Regions from separate parts of the Homo sapiens genome. Here region 1 is linked to region 2. Evidence: promoter capture Hi-C in human tissues and cell types (Jung and others, 2019). All regions are on one chromosome and are shown on one strand. The core of a region is centred on a gene start or on the middle of the fragment in contact, and the rest is flanking DNA. Distances in the headings are between cores, read along the strand shown. Region 1 overlaps LOC105370345 (a long non-coding RNA gene). Region 2 holds the start of DAOA (D-amino acid oxidase activator).

What was found. Contacts are between HindIII fragments. The study calls those that stand out against the background at their distance.
Region 1: a contact is called between a fragment that was not itself captured here and the fragment with the promoter of DAOA in region 2, in 2 of the 25 tissues and cell types used here (dorsolateral prefrontal cortex and spleen).

Annotation. Positions count from the first base shown.
Region 1 is chr13:105,572,011-105,576,333 of GRCh38, reverse strand. LOC105370345 (a long non-coding RNA gene) reads left to right here. Exons shown (of 7, transcript XR_931698.2): 7 at 2,987-4,258. Among named protein-coding and RNA genes, the nearest start is that of DAOA-AS1, 68 kb to the right of the region's middle. The HindIII fragment of the contact is 3,031 bases long and covers 1,451-4,323 here.
Region 2 is chr13:105,464,017-105,468,074 of GRCh38, reverse strand. It overlaps DAOA (D-amino acid oxidase activator), which reads right to left and starts at 2,030. Exons shown (of 6, transcript NM_172370.5): 1 at 2,015-2,030; 2 at 1,743-1,859; 3 at 934-1,022. The coding sequence starts at 1,786. It overlaps DAOA-AS1 (DAOA antisense RNA 1), which reads left to right. Exons shown (of 7, transcript NR_040247.1): 5 at 1,655-1,888. The HindIII fragment of the contact is 13,308 bases long and covers 609-4,058 here.

The DNA of each region.
Region 1 (4,323 bases), core at 1,717-4,216, 110 kb before region 2:
AATTTATAAAGAAAAGAGGTTTAATTGACTCACAGTTCAGCGTGGCTTGGGAGGCCTCAGGAAACTTACATCATGGTGGAAGGGGAAACAAACACGTCGTTCTTCACATGGCAACAGGAAGGAGAAGTGCTGAGCAAAGAGGGGAAAGCCCCTTGTAATACCATCAGATCTTATGAGAACTCATTTGCTATCATGAAAACAGCAGCATGAGGGTAACCAGCCCCATGATTCAATTACTTCCCACCGGGTCCCTCCCACAACACATGGGGATAATAGGAATTACACTCAAGATGAGATGTGGGTGTGGACACGCCAAACTATATCATTTCATCCCTGCCCTCTTTCAAGTCTCGTGTCCTCACATTTCAAAACGCAATCATGCCCTCCCATCAGTCCCTCAAAGTCTTAACTCATTCCAGCATTAACTACAAAGTCCAAGTCCAAAGTCTCATCTGAGACAAGGCAATACCCTTTCAGCTATGGGCCTGTAAAATCAAAAGCGAGTTAGTTACTTACTAGATACAATGAGGGTACAGGCAATGGGTAAATACATCCATATCAATTGGGAGAAATTGGCAAAAACAGAGAGGCCACAGGCCCCATGCCAGTCCAAAATCCAATAGGGCAGTCATTAAACCTTAAAGTTCCAAAATGATCTTTGACTCCACGTTTCACGTCCAGGTCATATTGGTGCAAGAGGTGGGCTCCCACAGCCTTGGGCAGCTCCACCCCTGTGGCTTTGCAGGGTACAGTCCCCCTCCCCGCTGCTTTCATAGGCTGGCATTGAGTTCCTGCAGCCTTTCCAGATGCACGGTGCAAGCTGTTTGGTGGATCTACCATTCTGGGATCTGAAGGAGGGTGGCCCTCTTCTCAAAGCTTCAATAGGCAGTGCCCCAGTGGGGACTCTGTGTGGGGGCTCTGACCCCACATTTCCTTTCCACACTGCCCTAGCAGAGTTCTTCATGAGGGCTCCATGCCTGTAGCAAACTTCTCCCTGGATATCCCAGCATTTCCATACATCCTCTGAAACCTAGGCAGAGGTTCCGAAACCTCCAATCTTGTCTTCTGTGCATCCACTGGCCCAACACCACGTGGAAGCTGCCAAGGCTTGGGGCTTGCACTGTCTGAAGCAACAGACTGAGCTGTACCTTGGCCCCGTTTAGTCACAGCTGGCATTGAGCCAGTTGGGACTCAGGGCACCATGTCTTGAAGCTGCACAGAGCAAGGGGGCCCTGGTTTTGGTTCAATAAGGCATTTTTTCATTTTAGGCCTTCAGGCTTGTGATGGGAGCGGCTGCCATGAAGGTCTCTGACATGTCCTGGAGACATTTTCCCCATTTTCTTGGTGATTCACATTTGGCTTCTTGTTACTTATGCAAATTCCTGCAGTGTGCTTGAATTTCTCTCCAGAAAATGGGTTTTTCTTTTTTATTGCGTCTTCAGGCTGCAATTTTTTAAACTTTTATGCTCTGATTACTCTTGAATGCCTTGTTGCTTAGAAATTTATTCTGCCAGATACCCTAAATCATCTCTCTCAGGTTCAAAGTTCCACAGATCTCTAGGTCAGGGGCAAAAAGCTGCCAGTCTCCTTGCTGAAGCATAGCAAGAGTCACCTTTGCTCCAGTTCCCAACAAGTTCCTCATCTTCATCTGAGATGACCACTTCACTGTCCATATCACTATCAGCATTTTGGTCAAAGCCATTCAACAAGTTTCTAGGAAGTTCCAAATTTTCCCACATCTTCCTATCTTCTGAGCCCTCCAAGTCTCTAGAAAGTTCCAAACTTTTCCAAGTTTTCTTGTCTTCTTCTGAGCCCTCCGAATTGTTCCAACCTGTTCTTGTTACCCAGTTCCAAAGTGGTTTCCATATTTTTGGGTATCCTTATAGCCCCACTCCCTTGGTACTAATTTACTGCATCAGTTTGTTCTCACACTGCTAATAAAGACGCACCCCAAACTGGGTAATTTATAAAGGAAAGAGGTTTAATTGAATCACAGTCCTGAGGCTGGGAATGTCTCAGGAAGCTTACATTCATGGCAGATGGGGAAGCAAACACGTCCTTGTTCACATGGCAGCAAGAAGGAGAAATACTGAATAAAGAGAGAAAAGCCCCTTACAAAACCATCAGATCTCGCGAGGACTCACTCACTATCATAAGAACAGCCTGAGGAACCACCCCCATGATTTAATTACCTGCTACCGGGTTTCTCCCTTGACACGTGGGGATTATTGGAACTACAATTCAAGATGAGATTTGGGTGGGGACATGGCCAAACCATATCACCAAGATATAAAATTAAGTTGCCTCACTTTAATAACAAGGTTGAGTTACATTTTAAAATTATTATTAAAGTATATATGTGTGTGTGTGTGTGTGTGTGTGTATATATATATACATATATGTCTTTAAAGTTATGTTAAGTGTTCCATGTACTACTGTATTGAGCACATAGAGGTGCTCAGTAAATGTCAATGTTAGGTGAATAAATGAGCGGATAAAATATGGACCAACTTAGCTGGTCAGTGAGTTTATGGTTACTTATCTTTGAGAAGCATCTTTTGCCTTTCTCCATATTGAGATTGTTTAATTGAGCTGTGTAACTTTTGTATATGTTATTATATGTGTTTAAATTTTGTATATATTTTGTCTACCTTAGTAGCAAATTTTATTGAGAATATTTTTTTCTCAAAATAGCATCCCTTTAAACTAGAAAAAAAAACAGTTTTTATAGCTCTCTTTTGAACTAAATACTAAAGAATAAATTGGTCAAGTTCTTTCTCTGATCATGAAGTACCTGCAAACTGCTTCCCATAAATGACAGAAAAGGTTAAGAGACATTACCAGGATGGCTGCCCCAAATTGTTGCTGGTATCATTAAAATAGTCAACAAAAATGTGGAGCCTACAGCCTTGTAAAAATAGGAACATTTAAATCCATACTTTAGTCATTTCCTCTCCCTGATTTATGTTTTCTTGGTTGTTTGCAGGCGCAGTCAACAGCAGTGGAAGAGCTGGCTCATGTGTGGCTCAGGCTGACTCCACAATCAGAGTGATTATGTGGAAATCAATCAGAATTTTCTTCTTAGAAGATGTTTGTTCTGACATAATGACTGACTTTCCAGCTAATTTTTATTCATAGGCTTCTCCTTGCACAATGATCTCTATTTCTCTCAATGTTATTCTGTGTCTTTCTTGCTTGCCTGCACATTCTGAAAAAAAAAGGAAAGCAATTCCCTACATTTTATTTTGATACTTAATGTTGTTTGCTAACATATTCAGAACACAATGCAACTTTATATATTAGAGCACTTATAATATATATTAGGAAAACATCAATTAGGTACCACCAGTTATTTTAGACAGGTATCTCTTAGGTAAAATGTGGTGAAAATAGAGGGGCAATGATAGAATTCATATGTGAAAGAGTCAATTGGCCATCATTATGCCAAAATTATTTTGTGGTTCAGGGGACATTTTAAACTTTAATTTTTAAGAATTAAACTTTAATTAAATTTATTGTAGTTTAAATGCAATCACAAGGAAAGACTCTGAACTGGAAACACCAAGCCAAGCTCTTTCCTAGTTCTGGTCCCCTATAAACCCTGAAAGTTAATGCAATTATTGTAATTTTTAAACCACCGAGTTCTCAGGGTGATTAGTTATGCAGCAATAGATAGCCTGAAAAGGACCATTCTTTCTGGCACTGAAAATTAAGAAGAGTGATTAACAACATAAGAATGTAGTTTGTGCTGTCTGCCACAGATTTATGTTGTAGCTTCAGTGATTGCTTCAAAGCACCCTTACTAATTGCCAGCCTATTGCTGATACCTAGCTAAATTAGCATGTGTTAGTTTTGATACCACTATAGGCATTTAAAGGATAGCTGATACATTCTATATAAAATATAATTATTTTCCTATCTTTAGTTTATCCTAAAGTAGCAGCTATTATATTCGCTTCTTGATTAGCTTTATACATAACCAGAGAAAGTAAAATATCACAGAGTATATTTGAAGACATAAAAGTCTTTGGACAAAGCTCAAGTAATGAATCAGGATGCTATTACATCCTCCACATGACAGTAAATATATTTTATATTCCTAAATTTTAAGCTTTTAACAAAAGCAAATTTTATACTGGACTATTTCAATTTCTAGGGAAAGGAAATTATCATTTACTGTCTTTGAGGCTATAATCTATTTAGCCATTATTTTTATATTGATCAATTTATAATAAAGGTAAGAGAAAATACTACCACATATATGTTGTTTATATAATTTTAACTTTCATAATTAAAATACTGGGTATACTGCAAGATGTCAAT
Region 2 (4,058 bases), core at 781-3,280:
ACTCTAAAGACAGAGGGCAGGCCACGAGCCAAGGCATGCAGGAGGCCTCCAGAAGCTGGGGCAGGCAAGAGAATGGACTCAGCCCTGGAGCCTCCAGAAGGCATGCAGCCCTGCCCATTCCTTGCTTTTAGCCAGGTAAGATGTCTGTCAGCCTGATGAGAACTATGAAATAATGAATGTGCTTGTTTTTTTCACCACTAAATTTGTGCTTATTTGTTATAGCAGTGATAGAAAACTAAGACAAGGCTATATCTTGGCATGTCAGATTTTAAGTTATCTGCTATAGTGTAGAAAAGCCCAGAGAAGGAGCTGCAATTTGTCTCTTTGAAAAAAAAAAAAAAAAAAGGATCACCTTCTAGGGGATTAAACATTAATGGGCTGGGTGTTGTGGCTGACACCTGTAATCCTAGCACTTGGGGAGGCCGAGGCGCTGCTGCACTCCAGCCTGGGCAACATAGTGAGACCCTGTCTCCAGAAAAAAAAAAAAAAAAGAAAAAGAATTAAACGTTGACAGATTATTAAGTGAGGCACTGTGTGAGACCTAGCTTGGGTTTGCGCCTATAGATATTTAAAAGTTGATCCAGGTTTTCACTTGAAAGCAGAACTACTGCCTTAAATTCCCACTTCACAAAAATAAATCATGGATTGAGGGAAAAATTTACTTGTTTGCTTTATAAAAAGAGATATCGATCTCTTCATAAGTTATATATGTTTTACAAGGTTGCACTGTTTGAACTGTAAGTGTGAATGGTTGCTAACACTCCAGAAACCAAGAGGTACATTTTAACTGGAAAAATTTTCTTCCTGTATCTTACAAATTAATTGAAGTTTGTCTACGCTTGAAAATATGTCAAAAGTATTATGTAGCTTTACCACAGTTTTATCTAACTTCTAGAAGAATTTAAATTCATATAAAGATAAAGAGTAACATACCAATAGAGTTTAGAGAGTTTTCAGATTTGCTCAGAAGAATGCTCCTTTGAAAACCTATGAAGTAGATTTTACCCAATGTATATCTGGATCTAAAAATTAAAGAAAATATCAGTCGTGTTCAGATTCCTTTATACCCTGCAGAAGAGAGAAAGAATAAGCAACATCAATGGAGCATATAACATGTATGGTTTAGCACTTTCATATTTTTAATCTTAACTATTCAGCCAAATACGTCTTATTTTTTTATTTTTATAGATGAAGATATTGAGGTTTGCATTTTTTTTTTATAAATTGCTCAGTCATACAGTTGGTAAATAGCTGACAGGAGAGTTCACTCCAGGTCTTACTGGCTCTCAAACCTTTGCTTTTTAAAAATCTCCAAACTAGCGCCTCTCCCTTTTAACTGCAAAATAAGCACAAAGTTATCCCAGTTCTACACAGTGCTAAACAAATTCCTGTGAGCAAACAATTAGCACAGGCAGATGGAGTGAGGGGGAGGTGGTTTATAACAATGGAAAGCTGTCTGCCTGCTGTGGATTAAAGATTCAAACTCTTTGATCCTCCTCCCAGGGATAGGTGAGGGCCTATGTCTCCTCCTCATTAACATGAGTGATCCTTGGCTAGGTTCTCCTTTGACTGACAGAATATGGGAGAAAGTAAGGCTGAACCATATACTGGGCTCAGGCTTCCAACCCTGACATGTTCCACTTCCTGTCTCCAGGAACATTCACCCTGGGAGCTCTGTGCTGCCATGCAAATGTCACATTGCACTGAGGCCGCCATGCTGTAAAAAACCCCAAGCTACCTACCTGAAAAGCTGGAGAGAATCAGCACCCATCAGCTTTTCCAGCATTTTGGGTCCTCCCAGCTAAATCATCGGCATTGTGAAGCAGAGATGAGACCTCCTGCCATGCCCTTTCCAAATCCTGGACCAACAGAATCATCATATACACTAGTAAGCTTTTACTTTAAGCCACTAATTTGGGGTGTAGCTCTTTTGCAGCAAAAGATCATCAGAACACTGCCATGCAGGAGCTGATAAACTTGCTCACTGTTATGTATGTATCCAATGACTACTCACACACACATTACTTGCTTCACTCTACTTTCTGGCTTTCCATTCAGCAAATTTTAAGAAATGAAAATGTTATTCGTGGGAAATTAACTCAAGATCAATATTGTTGTAGTTAATCTCTTTGTAAATGGTAAAATATTAAATTATTGTGAGTCATTTTTATTTAAAGAAGTTTGGTTCTTTAAATGAAAGAAGTTTGGGTCTTTTGTGGATACTCTGCATATAGACATTCTAGACATGAAAGAATGTTGAAGACAAAGAATGTTGAAGAAATATAGACATGAAAGACTGTTGAAGTTTGGTTTTTTGTGGATACTCTGCATATAGACATTCTAGACTGGAGTGATACATCTTGTTCAGGTTTCTATGTTTTTAAAATGATAACTTGACACGCCTACCAATGCCAATTTTTAGGATATATATTTGTATATCTGTGTGAACTAAGGAAAATTCAGGAATGATTAAACCTACATATTTTGCCAGGAGAGACTGGATAATGTAAGTCTTTATATTTTTCACAACTTCAAGTTTATAGCATCCAAATGAGCAATTGCTGACATACCTAGGGGATTTCTCTGCAGGTTCAAGTCTGATCTGGCCTGAGGGCAACACTCTTACTGAGTGTGTTCCTAGGCACTCCTTGGCAGTTGGCTCCAGGCCACAATAAAGAGCCCTGATGATTCTCTGAGCAGGCCCAACTTCCATTCACATTCATGGGAATATGAGGATGACTTGTGATCTTCAGGACTTAGATAGACTCTTTCAGTTGGTGTAGGGTAAGCTCAGCTCATCTCTAGAGACTTCCCACAGTGGAGCTCATGCATGACTCTGTGCAGGTGGCACAGGACAGCCAGAGACAGGCACCTAAGGAGTGCACTACCAGCAGGTGGACTCTCCACTGAGGGAGGTAGACAAGGGAGAAAGCCAGGTGTCCACATGGAGCAGGCCTTACTCAGGGAGACTGAGATTTTGCTCTACACATCATAAAACGTGGAGGTCATTAATGGAATTTTTCACAGGACATGACTGCCATAGCCATGATAGGGTCCCTGGCTAATCTTTCAATTATGATAGCATCATAAGATAATTTTGAATATGAGGAGAGAAGAATAACTCTAGAACTGCAATATCCAATATGGTAACCCCTAGCAACCTAAGGCTACTTAAACTAATTAAAATTAAAACTTTAGTTCCTCAGTGCCACTAGCCATATTTCAAGTACTCAATAACCACACACACTTGGCTACCATGTTGGACAGCACTGACATAGACCATTTCCATTACTGCAGAAAGTCCTCCTATTTGACAGTCCACCTCTGGAACCAATCCGGAGTCTTTAGGGACCTAAAAGACTGAGGTGCTAAATCTCAGAGCAGTACTCTGCTTAATGCTTAGTTAAAAGACTTGCTAATCTATATAGTTGATCTAGAGAACTTTAAAGGCAGCTAGTTCGTAGCAACTATGTTGCTGGACCTTGAAACTGTATGTCAGGAACTTGGTGTTCTAGTGGTGACTTCTCTTTTATCTACCATGTTCACACTTTTCCTACCACTCATTTATCCATTCAGAAAGTATTTCAGAAGTCCCTATGATTTACCAGGTGCTATTTCAGACACTGAGGCACTGTGGGGAACAAAACAAACAAAGTCTCCTTTCTCAGGGATCTCACATTCCATGTGGTGATGCAGACTGTAAAAATTCACACACAGAAGATACTTTCATACAGTAGGAAGTTTTATGAAGAATATTTCAAAAGGGGTGTGGGGTGGGAGAGGTTGATGTTCAGGTGTTTGCTTGAGAATGAACTGTTCATACAAAGAATCAATAATTCATTTGTTCCACAAATATTTATTGAGTACCTGTTATTAGCAGGCTACTTTATTAGGTTGCCAGAGCAGGGTTTTCTTAGCACAATTAAAACACAATAACATTTGTTAGAAATTCAAAGACCCATGTCCACTCTTGCATAATGAATCAGAGTCTCGAGGTTATGGTCCAGAGACTGGTGTATTTAAAAATCACTGAAGTAATTTTAAGGTATAGCCAGAAT